Regions from separate parts of the Homo sapiens genome. Here region 1 is linked to region 2. Evidence: promoter capture Hi-C in human tissues and cell types (Jung and others, 2019). All regions are on one chromosome and are shown on one strand. Each heading gives the region's core, a stretch centred on a gene start or on the middle of the fragment in contact. The rest is flanking DNA. Distances are from core to core; before and after follow the strand shown. Region 1 overlaps MEOX2 (mesenchyme homeobox 2). Region 2 holds the start of MEOX2 (mesenchyme homeobox 2).

Region 1 (6,800 bases), core at 2,824-5,323, 48 kb after region 2:
TCCACTCAAATGAAAGTAAGTTCAAAAATAAGAAGTAATAGCTTCTGCAGATAAGAAGGAACCAGCATAAATAATTCTAGCACCATGAAGAAACAGAATGCTCTGACACCCTCAAAGGACCATGTTAGTTCTTTAGCAATTGCTCCTAACCAAAATGAAAACTTTGAAATGAGAGACAAGGAATTCAAAATATGGATTGTAAGCAAGATCAATAAGATCCAAAAGGAAGTTGAAAATAATCACAAAGAAACCAGAAAATCAATTTAGAAGACAAAAGGCAAGATAGATATATTAAAGAAAAGCAAAATAGAAACTTTGGAAATGAAAAATGCACTAAAGGAAATTCAAAACACTGTGGCAAACTTAGCAGTAGAGTAGAACAAACAGAAAAAAATGAAATTCAGAGCTTGAAGACTGTACTTTTGAATTATCTCAGTCAGACAAAAATAAAGAAAAAATAATTTTAAAAAATGAACAAAGACTTCCAGAAATATGGGATTATGTGATGCAAACAAACCTGTGACTTGAAGGCTCTCCAGAGAGAGAAGACAAAAAAGTAACTAACTTGGAAAACATGTTTGAAGGGATAATTCAAGAAAATTTCCCTAATATTGCTAGAGAGGTAAATATCCAGAAATTAGAAATGCAGGGAATACCTGCAAGATGCCATACAAGATGAACATCAACAAGGCATATAGTCTTCAGGCTATCCAATGTCAACATGAAGGAAAAATCTTAAAGACCGATAAAGAAAATAGTCAAATCACCTATAAAGGCAATCTCATCAGACTAACAGAAGATTTCTCAGCAGAGATTTTACAGGCCAGAAGAGATTGGGGGCTCATTTTTAGCCTTTTTTTTCGAATGGCAACAAAAAATTTTGTATCCTGTCAAACTGAGCTTCATAAATGAAGGAGAAATAAAATATTTTTTTCAAACAAGCAAACACTAGTAGAATTTATCACCATGAGACTAGACCTTCAAGAAATGCTCAAGGGAGTTCTAAAAATGGAAATAAAAGGACAAAACTTACTAGGACAAAAGCAAATGAAAATACAAAGTTTATAGATGCTATGAAGCAATTACACAATTGGGACTACAAAGCAACTATCTAACAACACTATTAGAGGAACAAAACCTCCCATATCAATATGAACCTTGATTGTAAATAGCCTAACTGCCCCACTTAAAAGATACAGATTGGCAAACTGGATGTAAAAAACAAGATCCAACCATTTACTGCCTTCATGGGACCCACTTCACATGTAATGACACAGGCTCAAAGTAAAGGAGTGGAGAAAGATCTACGATGCAAACAGAAAAGGAAAGAGAGCAGAGGTTGCTATTCTTGTGTTTGATAAAACAGACTTCAAACCAACAACAGTTAAAACAAACAAACAAACAAACAAACAAAAAACAAGGAAGAACATTGAATTATAATAAAGGGTTCAACTCAATTCAGTAAGATTTAACTACCCTAAACATATATGCAACCCAAATGAATACATTTCTGAAACATACAATCTCCCAAGAGAGAACCAGGAAGACATTGAAATTCTGAACAGACAAATAATGAGTTATGAAATTGAATCAGTAATAAAAAACATCTACCAATTAAAAAAAGCCCAGGGCCAAATGGATTCATAGCCAAATTCTACCAGACATACAAGACAGAAGTGGTACCAACTTACTGAAATTATTCCAAGAAATCAAGGAGGAGAGTTTCCTTCCTAACTCATCCTACCACGATATCAAAATATGGCAAACCCACAACAACAACAACAAAAATAAAATCATAAGCCAATATCTCTGATGAACATAGATGCAAAAATTCTCAAGAAAATCCTAAGAAGCCAAATCTGGCAACATATCAAAAAAGATAATTCATCACGTTCAAGTTAGTTTAATTCCAGGGAAGCAAGGATAGTTCAACATACACAACTCAATAAATATGATTCACTATGTAAACAGAATTAAAAACAAAAACCATATGATAATCTCAGTAGATGCAGAAAAAGCATTTGTTAAAATCCAGCATCCTTCATGATAAAAACCCTCAACAAACCAGGCATTGAAGGAACATACTTCAAAATACTAAGAGCCATGTATGACAAACCCACAACTAACATCATACGGAATGGGGAAAATTTGAAAACATTCCCTTTAATAACTGAAAGAAGAAAAGTATGCCCACTCTCACCATTGCTATTCAACATTCAACATAGTACTGAAAGTCCTAGCAGGGCAAGCGAAAGAAACAAAAGGCATTCAAATTTGAAACAAGGAAGTCAATTTACCTCTGTTTACTGATGTCATGATCTTATATCTGGAAAACTCTAAACATTCCTTCAAAAAACTCCCAGATGTGAAAAATAACTTCAATAAAGTTTCAGGATTCAAAATTAATGTATAAAAATCAATTTCATTGTATACAACAACAGTGCTCAATCTCAGAACTGAATCAATGACCCAGTCTCCTTCACGGTAGCCAGAAACACACACACACACACACACACACACAAACACACACACACAACCCCCAAACAGCAACAACAACAAACCTAGAACAGACCTAACTAAGGAGGTGAAAGAATTCTACAAGGAGAACTACAAAGCACTGATTATAGAATCATAGATAATACAAACAAATGGAAAAACATCCCATGGATAGGAAGAATCAATATCATTAAAATGACTATATTTGCCCAAAGTGATCTACAGATTCAACACAATTCCTATTAAACTACTAATGTCATTTTTCACAGAATTAGAAAAACAATTCTAAAATCCACATGGAACCAAAAAAGAGAGCTCAAATAGCCAAAGCAATCGTAAGCAAAACAAACAAACAAAAAACAAAAGCAAACAAAACTGGGGATATGACATTACCTGACTTCAAAGGGTACTAGAAGGCTTTAGTAACCAAAACAGTTTGGTACTGGTACAATAGACACATAGATCAATGGAACAGAATAGAGAGCCTAGAAATAAAGCCACACTCCTAATGCTAGCTGATCTCCAACAAAGTCAACAAAAATAAACATGGAGAAAAGACACCGTTTTTAATAAATGGTTCCGGGAAAACTGGCTAGCTACATGCAGAAGAATGAAACTGGAACCTTATCTCTCACTATATACAAAAATTAACTGAAGATGTACCAAAGATCTAAACATAAGACCCAAAACTATAAAAAAAAGAGGAAAATCTAGGAAGAACTTTTTTAGAAACTGGCCTTTAGATTAAGACCTCAAAAGAAAATGCACCAAAAACAAAAGCAGACAAATGGGACTTATTAAACTAAAGAGCTTCTGCACAGCAAAAGACACAATCAATTGAATAATCAGAAAACCTAGAAACTGGAAGAAAATATTCAAAAACTCTGCATCCAACAAAAGACTAATATCCAGAATATATAAAGAACTTAAACAAATCCACAAGAAAATGACAGACAACCCCATTATAAAGTAGAAAAAGGACATGAACACATACTTCTCAAAAGAAGACATACAAGTTGCTAATAAACATATGAAAACATGCTCAACATCACAAATCATCAGTGAAATACAAATAAAAACCCCTATGAGATACCATCTCATACCAGTCAGAATGGCTATTATTAAAAAGTCAAAAAAATAACAGATGGTGAGGATGTGGAGAAAAGTGAATACTTTTACACCGTTGGTGGGAATGTAAATTAGCTTATATCCTATAGAAAACAGTATGGAGATTTCTCAGCTATAAAAAGAACTATAATTTCACCCAGCAATTCCACTACCGGGTATCTACCCAAAGGGAAAGGAATAATTGTATCAAAAAGTCACCTGTTTTTATCATGTTTATCACAGCACTATTCACAATAGCAAATTTATGGAATCAACCTAAATGTCCATCAACAGTTGATCGCGTAAAGAAATTGTGATATATATGCACCATGGAATATTATGGAGCCATAAAAAAGGTATCAAATCCTGTCCTCTACAGCAGTAGAGATGGAGTTGGAGGCCTTTATCTTAAGTGAAATAACTCAGAAAGAAATGAAATACACATGTTCTCACTTACAAGTGGAAGCTAAACGATAGGCACACATGGACACAAAGATGGAAATAATAGACCCTGGGGATTCCAAAAGGGGAGAGAGAGAAGGAGGAGAGGGTAAAAAATACTACCATGTTCACTATTTAGGTGATGGGTTCACTAGAAGCCCAAACCTTACGATTATGCAATATACCTACGTAACAGACCATCACATGTACGCCTCTGAACCTAAAAAATAAAGAAGATCTAGAAATGTTTTACATATGCACAAAATTTGCATGAATTAGACTAAATGCATATGAGACCAATGAAGACTAAATAAAACAAAGTATTTTAAGTGTGTTAACTGTAAATATATATGCCCATGCACATACAAACGTACATAAATAAAAGATAATGCCATTTAATTGCACTCAGAAAAATAATTTATGCTTTAAACTAGACTGCAATTTTTAGCAGCAAAGCTATAAAACATGAAAGAAATAAAAGCATACAGACTTTCACAACCTATTAACTTTTTAAAAAGTAATCATACACAACTCTTGCTGATTGCTTAAAGAAATTATGAGGATTGTGGATCTTTTAAAATACACAGGGGTGGAAAGAGCTAGAAAATAAAAATCATCTTTTTACTAAGTTCAAGATCACTAAAAATGAAATAAAGGTGTATTTCACTAAATGTTACGTGTCAAATGAAAGTTAAATGATTCAAATGAAATATGTAAACTAATAAATTTGACTTAGAAAAGGCTAATAAATGTAACAGTACCATCCTACTCCTGGTACATTTTAAGTTTAATATTACTAATAGTAGGTTTGTATTATTGAATTGATACTATATCTCAGATATACACACTTTAAATTCTCTAATTCTCCTATTTTCAACAATCCTGTGGATTCTTAGATGGGGAATCTGAATTTCAAAAACCAGCCTCAGAAGACCACACAGTAAGTAGCAACAACTGATATCCAACCCAAGTCTGCTGGCTTCAAAGCCCCGATATGTTCCCCAGCCACTCTTTCCTTCTAAATAACTAGAGTTGTAAACAGAACTGTACAAGTTATAGAGCTATAATTATAACTACAATTCTGTTTAATCAATGAAAAACTTTAAAAACTGGATACTACTAAGATTTTTCTGCTTATTGAGAAGTATTGCAAGATTAGCAGATGGTATGTTTTATGTGTGTGTGTGCGTGTGTGTGTGCGTGTGTGTGTGTGTGTATTGGAAAATTACATTTTAGGAGTAAGCACATCCTCTTTTTGTGGGTGGTAGCACACGTGTTCAGTAAAACAAAAATGTGTATGCTTCAAGTCCCTTTCTCTCCACCATGTAATGGAATACTGAATGCTATCTAATATCTAACTGGAAGAAACTTATGAATCATTTCAGAAATTATAAGATGTAACCTATGACGTATGTGAGTTTTGAGTGCCTGAATTTGTTATGCAATTACAACCCAAGGATTATCTGTAAGACCTAGATGAAAGCTTCACATTCACAGAAACTTAATGCCGTATCATTATATACTATCTTGGCAGAGATCAGAAATAGGTGTAGGACATTTTTCACATTTAAACTAATATGAAATTAAGTATGATTTTAAAAAACATTTCAGACTTCAGTGAAATTATTTTCCTAGTATAATTTACCCAACAGAATATTAAAGTTAGTCTCTAAAATATCATAAATAAATGGATAATTCTATGGTCTGAATGTGTTTCCCAAAATTCACGTGTTGAAAACTTGATCCCCAGGGCAACAGTGCTGGCAGGTGAGGCCTTTTGGGAGGTGTTTAGGTCATGAGGATTTCACTCCCATGAATGGATTAATGCCACTATGAAAAGGGCTTATATGAATGGGATCACGCTCTTTTGCCCTTCTGCCTTTTGCCATTAAGGATGCAGCCAGAAAGCACTCACCAGATGTTGCTGCCTTGATCGTGCACTTCTTCTCAGCCTCTAGGATTGTAGGAAATAAATTTCTGGTTTTTTAAAATAAATTATTCACTCAGGTATTCTGTTATAGCAGCACAAAATGGACTGAGGCAGATAATAATTACATTTATGTTCTTAAATTTCTATATGGCATGTATAATTGAATTTAAGATCTCCAAAGAAATGATTCAGATGCTCTCTAATTGGGAAAATCTTTGCAAAAAACAATCACAATTTGATTATAATGCAGATTCGTCAGCCTGAGATTGTTTTCCTTCTTGCCAATACAGCTACAATCATGTAACAGATCACAAGAATTTAACTTCACTAGCGCAGTCAAAAGGAAACTGATGCCTGAGCTAGAACCCTATGTTGTTTGGTATTTTATAATAAGTTTTATTTCATTACCTTTATGCATTATTTATTATTGTTTATAATTTGTTTATTATACTTTGAAACCAAAGCAAAATCAATTTATAAATTCTTGGTCATTAATCTTCCGATATGATTATTTCAGAAAAAATATCTAAGGGATTTTTTTTCTCAAACCCTCTATATGAAGAAACTCATAATTAGAGAAAATTTCTAAGTAAATAACAGCACAACATTTAAGAGAATCGGCTTGTAAGTGTTTTCAGTAAATACTTCTTATCTTGGTCTTCTAAAAATCCATTTAGAAGTATTAATTAAACTTTTTTTAATACTTTAACCACTAGGCAGAATGTGACTCCTATCTTCCTACATTTATGTACCTGTTTGACAGGACTCTAAAAGAGAAGAAACACACATACCCACACAAACACAAGCACACTATCTGACTCCGTTT
Region 2 (7,497 bases), core at 3,381-5,880:
CCTGTTATGGAAAGGATATAATTTTCAATGACAAAATTTTGAAAAGGCCTACATTTATCAATAAAAATAACATACAACGTGAATGCAAATGAAAATGTAGAAATTAATTATTGTCTATTAGCATTATTATGAGTTAACTATCAAATAATTATGGATTTAAAACAGGTGAACAAAAGGAAGTCCAGATGGAAGTGTTTGAAATTTGAGAGGCAATCTATGTCTTCCCAATCATAAGACGCCTCACAAAATAAAAAAAGAAAAAGAAAGACAAGAGATCATTAGAATTTTATTAAGTGTGAATACATATTATGAAAGAATGCATATATTTTGAATTTTTAATTCAATCTTTTAGATTTAATTTTATTAGTCATAATCTATATTGCATGCTGGCTTTCTAAAGATCATCCGTTAAATAGTTCTAATTTTGATATATTTTGTTTCCTCTCTTATTGCTTTAGGCAGAGTTATATTTAGCGTTGAGAACAATTTCATTGATTATACTATACCGGAATTGAATGGAAGAAAAACACTAATTCCTGAAAGAAATAAATTTAAATGCAGGAAGACCTAGAAACTAGAAAAACAAAGTACGTTGGATTGTTTTACAGTTTAGAAGTAAGGTTTTAAGTATTCATTTCTTTTGGTACATGTAAAATGAATGTAACAATTTTTACTGTGAATGTACCAATTAATGTTATATAAAAATAATAACATTTTAAAAATGTGTAAAAGTATACAGAATCACTAAATAACATGCATTAGCCATAGCAAAATTGTTCCATAAACTTTATAATGCATAGTTCCTGGGGAGAATCAGTTCCTTAGTTTTATAAAATAATGTACATCATAAATCACATAAATTACCATTGGGTATTTAGCATATTTGGATACATTTTCAAAATTCTTTATTTCAGAAGAACCAACTGAAGGACATAACTGCTACTTTTTGGCAAAATATAGCAGAAATAATATTTCTATACCCAATAAAGTTTTCAGAAACAAATTACAACATTAATTTAATTATCCACCCTTTAGTTCATATATTATGAGTATATGTTACCAAGGAAAATTTATCTATTAGGTAAAATTCAAAGTAGAGTTTCCTATTTAATTTTAAATATTTGAAGTTCCATGACAACTCATGTCACACGTGTGCAGAAGAATGGCAACTTTTAAAAGAATCGTTGTGAATCTTAAAGTAAAATTTAAATACAATTTTGTTGTATTGCTTAATATGAGCTCTAGTCCCCTTAAAATAAAATAGTCCTAATAAAAAGAAATCTCTGCCTTTACTCTTGAATGTCATTTTATTTAAGCCGAGGAAACAATAGATATACACACTTATCAAGTTTAAAGAACCTAGCCTACGTTTAAAATAATTATAGCTGTGGACCCTGCAAGAGCTAAGTAGCTTACCTTTTCACAGAATCAACCTCTTTATAATGTGTTACTTGATATTGAAACCTTACATGAAATGTTGGCATTAATATAACTTATCTTCAGGAAAACTCAAGTATATTATAAATGTAGGATAAATACTATATCATACATAGTTGTAAATGATTGTTATATAGAAATTTTATAATAAATTTTATAATTTTTACCATTCTTCTTGATATCATTAGGTAAAAAGGCATCTTTTCAATATTGGATTTTATGGATGTGAACACTGAAGTAGCTATTATAGGAAATGCTAGGGATTTTTTTCCCGTTGTTACTACATTTTAAAAATTTCTCTATAACCTAGAACATAAAATTCAATATTCTATCTTATTCCAAATATTCTAATAAAATTTAAAAATCTTTATGTAATGATTAATACATATTTAGAAATCCAGAGAAAATTAAAGTTATATTTAATTCTGGAATTCACCAAGACGTCCTTTTTAGTCCTTCATTTTTTCCTTCCAAATATTTTCCTTATATTCTGTTTTCTATAAGAAAACTGGACATCATAATTTTTGCTGATATTAAATGTTCTGTGTCTTCAATTAAAAAGACCTTTCTTGCTAGCTTTGTTTTCATTGCATGCCTTTGGAATGACTTCCTCCTTTTCTAACCTTTCTTAAATTTTTCTTCCCAGGTTTCTGGCCCCACAGTTCTAGAGGCTGACTGACTGGGGCAGGTTGTAGAGAAACTTCTGGACAGGTTGTTAACATCTGACACAGTGAGTGAGAAAAAATCCAGCACAGTCACTGGGCAGGTTTAAGAAGAAGTGGCAGCCTCGGGAGATGAAAGGTTTGTGTGTGCTTGTTGCTGGTTACCTGCAACACACTGGTTAAATTCAAATCCATTCATTTAGTAATTGCTTAGCTTCCTCTAAACCAATGTAATGCAAACCAAAAGGACCGTTGTGGATGTTTTGTACTGATGTCTGCAGATCATGAGTAATTTTAGTCTGTCTTGTCTGACATTTTCCACAATGCTTTTAGTTGACAGCATTATATTATGTAAATATTTCTGGTTAGGTTTATTGAGGTGGTTGCCTAAATCTCACTTTAAATAAAGCCTTTAATGCTTTCACCCAGAATCCATAGAGAAGCTACATGAGTTGGGGAAGTTTAGTGTTGCTCTTTGTACTTTAACTTTTAATATCAGAGCACATATTGAAACCATAAACACAATGAAAATACAAAAAAATATTCCGACGATATTGGAGGACTATAACTCCCCCACCTCTTTTTATTCTTAAAGAGCCAAGGGCGTGGGGAGTGGCAGGAAGAGATATTCTCAAGATCTAAGTCCTGGACGCCATCCTGCGAGTGCTTAAAGCCCCTAGAAACGTGCAACCTGAACAACACCCCTTTTCGAAGTCTAAAACAATATTAGATTCCCAAAATATCGGCAAAGAAAGTCTTACCGTCAGACTTGCAGCAGGTTTCAGCTCAGACCCAGACTGAAAAGCTGAGCAGCTGGTGAACAAAAGATTTAGTTTTTTTTTTTTTTTAAACGAAGTCTGCAAAACTAATTTCCCTCAAAATAGAGCTCAATTTCCGTTAAAGAAAGCAGCGCTTACAAATCTCAGAATTCCTGATCAACCCCCACTCCACCCCACCTCTGAGCAATAGAAAACAATTCGATCTTTCACACGGATGTTATTGCGAAGCCACTATTCTGCAGTGTGACTTAAAAGAAAAGAAGATAGTGAGGCTTAAGCAAGGGGACTGGAAGAGGAGGGGAAAGGTTCTGCTTTGGGGACACCTCTCAAAGATTAATCAATGCTTTTTCCTAATTCAAACCAGATGTCTAGCCCAGTTTGCTGTACCCATTAATCCCACTAACAACTTCAAAGACCTGGTCATCATCCTCTGGACACCTGAGACAATGAAAAAACGGGGCGACACTGCTGGTGGCGCATTTGGGGCCCCGGGCAGAATAGGTGACTACAGATATTCTCCTGATGCGACAGGTCGCAGATGGGACATGACTGTTCCTCCTGCTCATTACAGCGCCACTCACTTGTGTGTAAACGACTCTGCCCCCAGCGGACCCTGTCGCCCGCCAAGCAAGTAGCAGCTTCAAAGCCCTGCCCTCGCTCTCGCATGCTTACTAGAGGCGAGTTTTCTATTTTATTTTCAGGGGTGCAAAATTGTAACCAAGTGCCCACGGTGAGTGAATTTTGGGAGCTATCGAAATGTAAGAATTCTCAGTAAATGGAACCCTGGTGGTAAGGAATGCATTAGCGGATTTATTTTTGAGCAGAAGAGAGTGGATTTCTGGAGGAAACCGAGGAGATCTGGGCTAGCTCCTGAGGGGAAAGGCTAGAAATGCGCGTGCAATCTACACATCTCATATGACCGGGACACAATCGCTTGGAAATATTCTTGACCCAGGAAAAGTTCTTCTTGGTGGACAAGTGGCTAGGAAATTGAGCGGGACCGGGAAAGAGGGGGAAGGGAGCCTCCACCTGGCATCGCACGTGAGGATGCCAGGGAGCAGGCATCTGCAACCCTTTCAGACTCACGCCTTCCTCCCACCCACCCAACCAGGTCCGTCTTCTTTCTGCACTGAGAACCGCCTTTTCCAGGCCATGGTGCTCATCCCCGCAACCTCAGATCTGGCGTCCCAGCCTATTAACAACCCACCGACAGAAACCAGCTGCGAAAACCTAGGCGCGCTGCGGCGCCCGGGGCACGGGAAGATGCAAAGTTTGAAAAACTTCGAGGGTGCGCCAAACTAGCTCTGGTCTTTTCCTTTAACCCTATTACTTCTTTCGTGTTCCTGAAAGGATAGGCGTATCCCTAGCTTTTCTGCAGGTGACAGTTCCCAAATGACACTGACAAGTCACGTTTCCCCGAGAGGAAAGTGAGTAGGTAGGAATCAGGGTGCTAGGTTGGGGGTGGTGTGCGCCGCGCCCAGGCCTCCAGAGTCTGGAGGGCAGAGCTGCTGCCCTCCCGGGCGGGACTTAGACGTTGGCGTGCCGCTTGTAGTCCTGGCAGCCGGCAGTGCTGGGCGGGCGTGGACGCTCTACGTCCGTCCAGCAGGAGATAGGAAGTGGAACTGGGAGCGCGTGGCGCAGGCTGAGCGGGAGTTTTGGAGGGAGTTTGCATGTGGTCAACTCTGGGCTCCTAAGCCAGCCCCCAGCTCACGTTACACTCTATTTATAACTTCTCAGAGCCATTTCCCCCTGAAAGCAGTTCTCTGGGACCACCTTCTTTTGGCTTCAACCTCTCCCACTCTTGACATCTGAGTAGCTCAGGGAAGCTCTTCCAGGTCCGACTGTTCATATGTAAAGGAGACTGGCCGCTGGGGCTCAGGACCGGGATTATCCGAGCTCTGCAGAAGTGCACCGCTATTGCTTTGGGAGGTTAAAAAAAAAATCACACGGTTTCCAGTGAAAAAGTGACAGAGGGTGGTGGCCTTTGGAACCGCCGTGAAGTCTTCTGCCTGGAACCCGAAACTTGCATGCTATGGAACACCCGCTCTTTGGCTGCCTGCGCAGCCCTCACGCCACGGCGCAAGGCTTGCACCCGTTCTCCCAATCCTCTCTCGCCCTCCATGGAAGATCTGACCATATGTCTTACCCCGAGCTCTCTACTTCTTCCTCATCTTGCATAATCGCGGGATACCCCAACGAAGAGGGCATGTTTGCCAGCCAGCATCACAGGGGGCACCACCACCACCACCACCACCACCACCATCACCACCATCAGCAGCAGCAGCACCAGGCTCTGCAAACCAACTGGCACCTCCCGCAGATGTCTTCCCCACCGAGTGCGGCTCGGCACAGCCTCTGCCTCCAGCCCGACTCTGGAGGGCCCCCAGAGTTGGGGAGCAGCCCGCCCGTCCTGTGCTCCAACTCTTCCAGCTTGGGCTCCAGCACCCCGACTGGGGCCGCGTGCGCGCCGGGGGACTACGGCCGCCAGGCACTGTCACCTGCGGAGGCGGAGAAGCGAAGCGGCGGCAAGAGGAAAAGCGACAGCTCAGGTAAGGGCGCGCCAGGCACCCTCGAGAGTGCGCGCCGGGCTGGAAAAGGGGCGGAGAGATACTAGGGGAGATTCTCGCACTGGAGGGTGGCAGCAGGGAAGATGGGAATGTGTTGCCCTCTGTGGCTTCCTGCGGCCAAATTCGGCGGTGAAGCTTTGGTCCTGATATTTGGGGACACGTGTTTATTCGAGAGCAATGCGTATACAGCCAGCAGCTCTAAGCCCTCCAAAGTCCTAAACTAGTTTACCAGAAGGTTGATAAAAAAGGACAAGTGGCTGTGAAATCGATTGTGAAGCGTGACCTTCCATCCCAGCGCTGGGGAGGGAGGGGCGTGCGCCCAGGGATGCAGCGTCCGTTGGGCAGGCGTGCGTGCGGGTGCCGCTTCTTGACTTTTCTCTTGCAAGTTGCCGACTCTGAGTGGCTCGATTTTTCCCATCGTTAACTGGATTTCCAAATTATTGCACAATGTTTGGAACTTGCAATGGAACTTGGCAGAGCGCATGAGAAAAAAAAGTTTCAGTTTTTTTTTTTTAACATTCTTATTTCAGCGTTCTTTAAATAGCACCCTATTTCAAATGGTAAAATTTTCCCTTTATTGGGGAAGAAGACATTATCTAGGAATTCAGATTTTAAGGAATGTGTCAGAGAATTGTAAATAAATAGATGCTCACACTGGAAGAAAGACGAACCTTAATAGTACATGTCCATGTGGTGTAAGCTAATTACAGAACCTAAGTTTCAAAAGTGGAAAATAAATCCCTCTACCAAGTGGGTATTAGTAGAGACAAATACTGCGAAGCAACAGCAACTCGGGTACTGTTAGTTAGATACGTGTCTAAAGGGGTATGCAAGGGTGCGCGCAGGAGGCGCTGATTTCAGTGGGGATAATTTGAGCAGCCATGCAAAAGGGGAACCTTCCTGACCTCTGGTGCTTGAAGGCACAACGTGCCGAATAAATTGTAGCAATCCAGAGAAACTCAAAGTTTCCAGACAAGTTTTCAAAGCTCTTACCTACCTGTATTTTTATAAAATTGTTAAAAGATACTTTAAAATTAAGAGACTTGTGAGTTTTCTTTCGTGGGTATAGTGCAACCTGGATTAAATACTTTTGGAAGGTGTCATTTGTTTAATATAATATTTGCATATTTTTCTTCCTCTGTGGAATTGGGTTAATAATAGTCCTAGAAGGTAATCCCATATGTTGGTTTGAAGGATTGGAAAAATGTTGATCGTGTGTAAAGCTTTAGGTAAGATGCCACATAAATGAAAATGATTGGCCGCATATTTAATATTCCTTCACCATTCACAGCAATATCAATTGTTCTTCAGCGTTACTATAGGATGGATTCTTCTCTCACGGTCTCAAAAGCTAACTTTTATTTTCCAAGGTCAGGGGGTGAACTTTTAATGTTCCATCACAAATTAGTTTTTATAAGAAAATTACCAGTAGTGTCACTGATATTTAATGTATTTTCCTAACTATAAGTGAAACTCTCTTTAGATAGTGAGTTGAAAGGTTAATCATAGCAAAAAGGTTTCAATTTTTATTAGAAAAACAGTCGATTTTAGAATGCAGTGACAATTTCATAAACTGAACATTTGATATCAGTGTAACTTTGGAAGCAGATCCCAGTTCGGGTTGATGAGCGTACTCTTGCAATTCCCATAAGCTCTTACGGTTCATTTTATTTCTTGCAATGAGAAACCTACATGATAGATTGTTCTTCATGCTTCCTGAACTGAGCCATTGCCCTTAAGTTTCTCAGGGCAAACAATTTTCATACAAGCACATGTTATTTTGTTTGGGGAAAACTGAGAAAACGGAATTCAATAACTGATTCCCTTAATTTATTTTAATAATTTTTTTAAAAAATGGAATAATTTAACAAAACTAATTTATCTCTCCCCCCCAACTTAGTGGGAAATAACCATTTAACAAAATTAAATTCATTTCTACATTTTGAAGCTGATAATGAGGGTACTGGAAAAACAAGCAAATATAAGTGTTTGTGTCAGCTACATAAATTATTAACAGATTAAAACTTCAGTGGAAAGTACAATTAGTCATCA

What was found. The method cuts DNA at HindIII sites, captures the fragments that hold promoters and counts their contacts. A contact is called where the count stands out against the background at its distance.
Region 1: a contact is called between a fragment that was not itself captured here and the fragment with the promoter of MEOX2 in region 2, in 1 of the 25 tissues and cell types used here (lymphoblastoid cells).

Annotation. Positions count from the first base shown.
Region 1 is chr7:15,635,976-15,642,775 of GRCh38, reverse strand. All of the region lies in intron 1 of MEOX2 (mesenchyme homeobox 2), which reads left to right. Among named protein-coding and RNA genes, the nearest start is that of MEOX2, 47 kb to the left of the region's middle. The HindIII fragment of the contact is 6,891 bases long and covers 628-6,800 here.
Region 2 is chr7:15,683,816-15,691,312 of GRCh38, reverse strand. MEOX2 (mesenchyme homeobox 2) reads left to right here and starts at 4,630. Exons shown (of 3, transcript NM_005924.5): 1 at 4,630-5,427. The coding sequence starts at 4,911. It overlaps LINC02587 (long intergenic non-protein coding RNA 2587), which reads right to left and starts at 2,935. Exons shown (of 2, transcript NR_110094.1): 1 at 2,861-2,935. RefSeq lists an enhancer at 5,434-6,266. The HindIII fragment of the contact is 7,827 bases long and covers 1-6,124 here.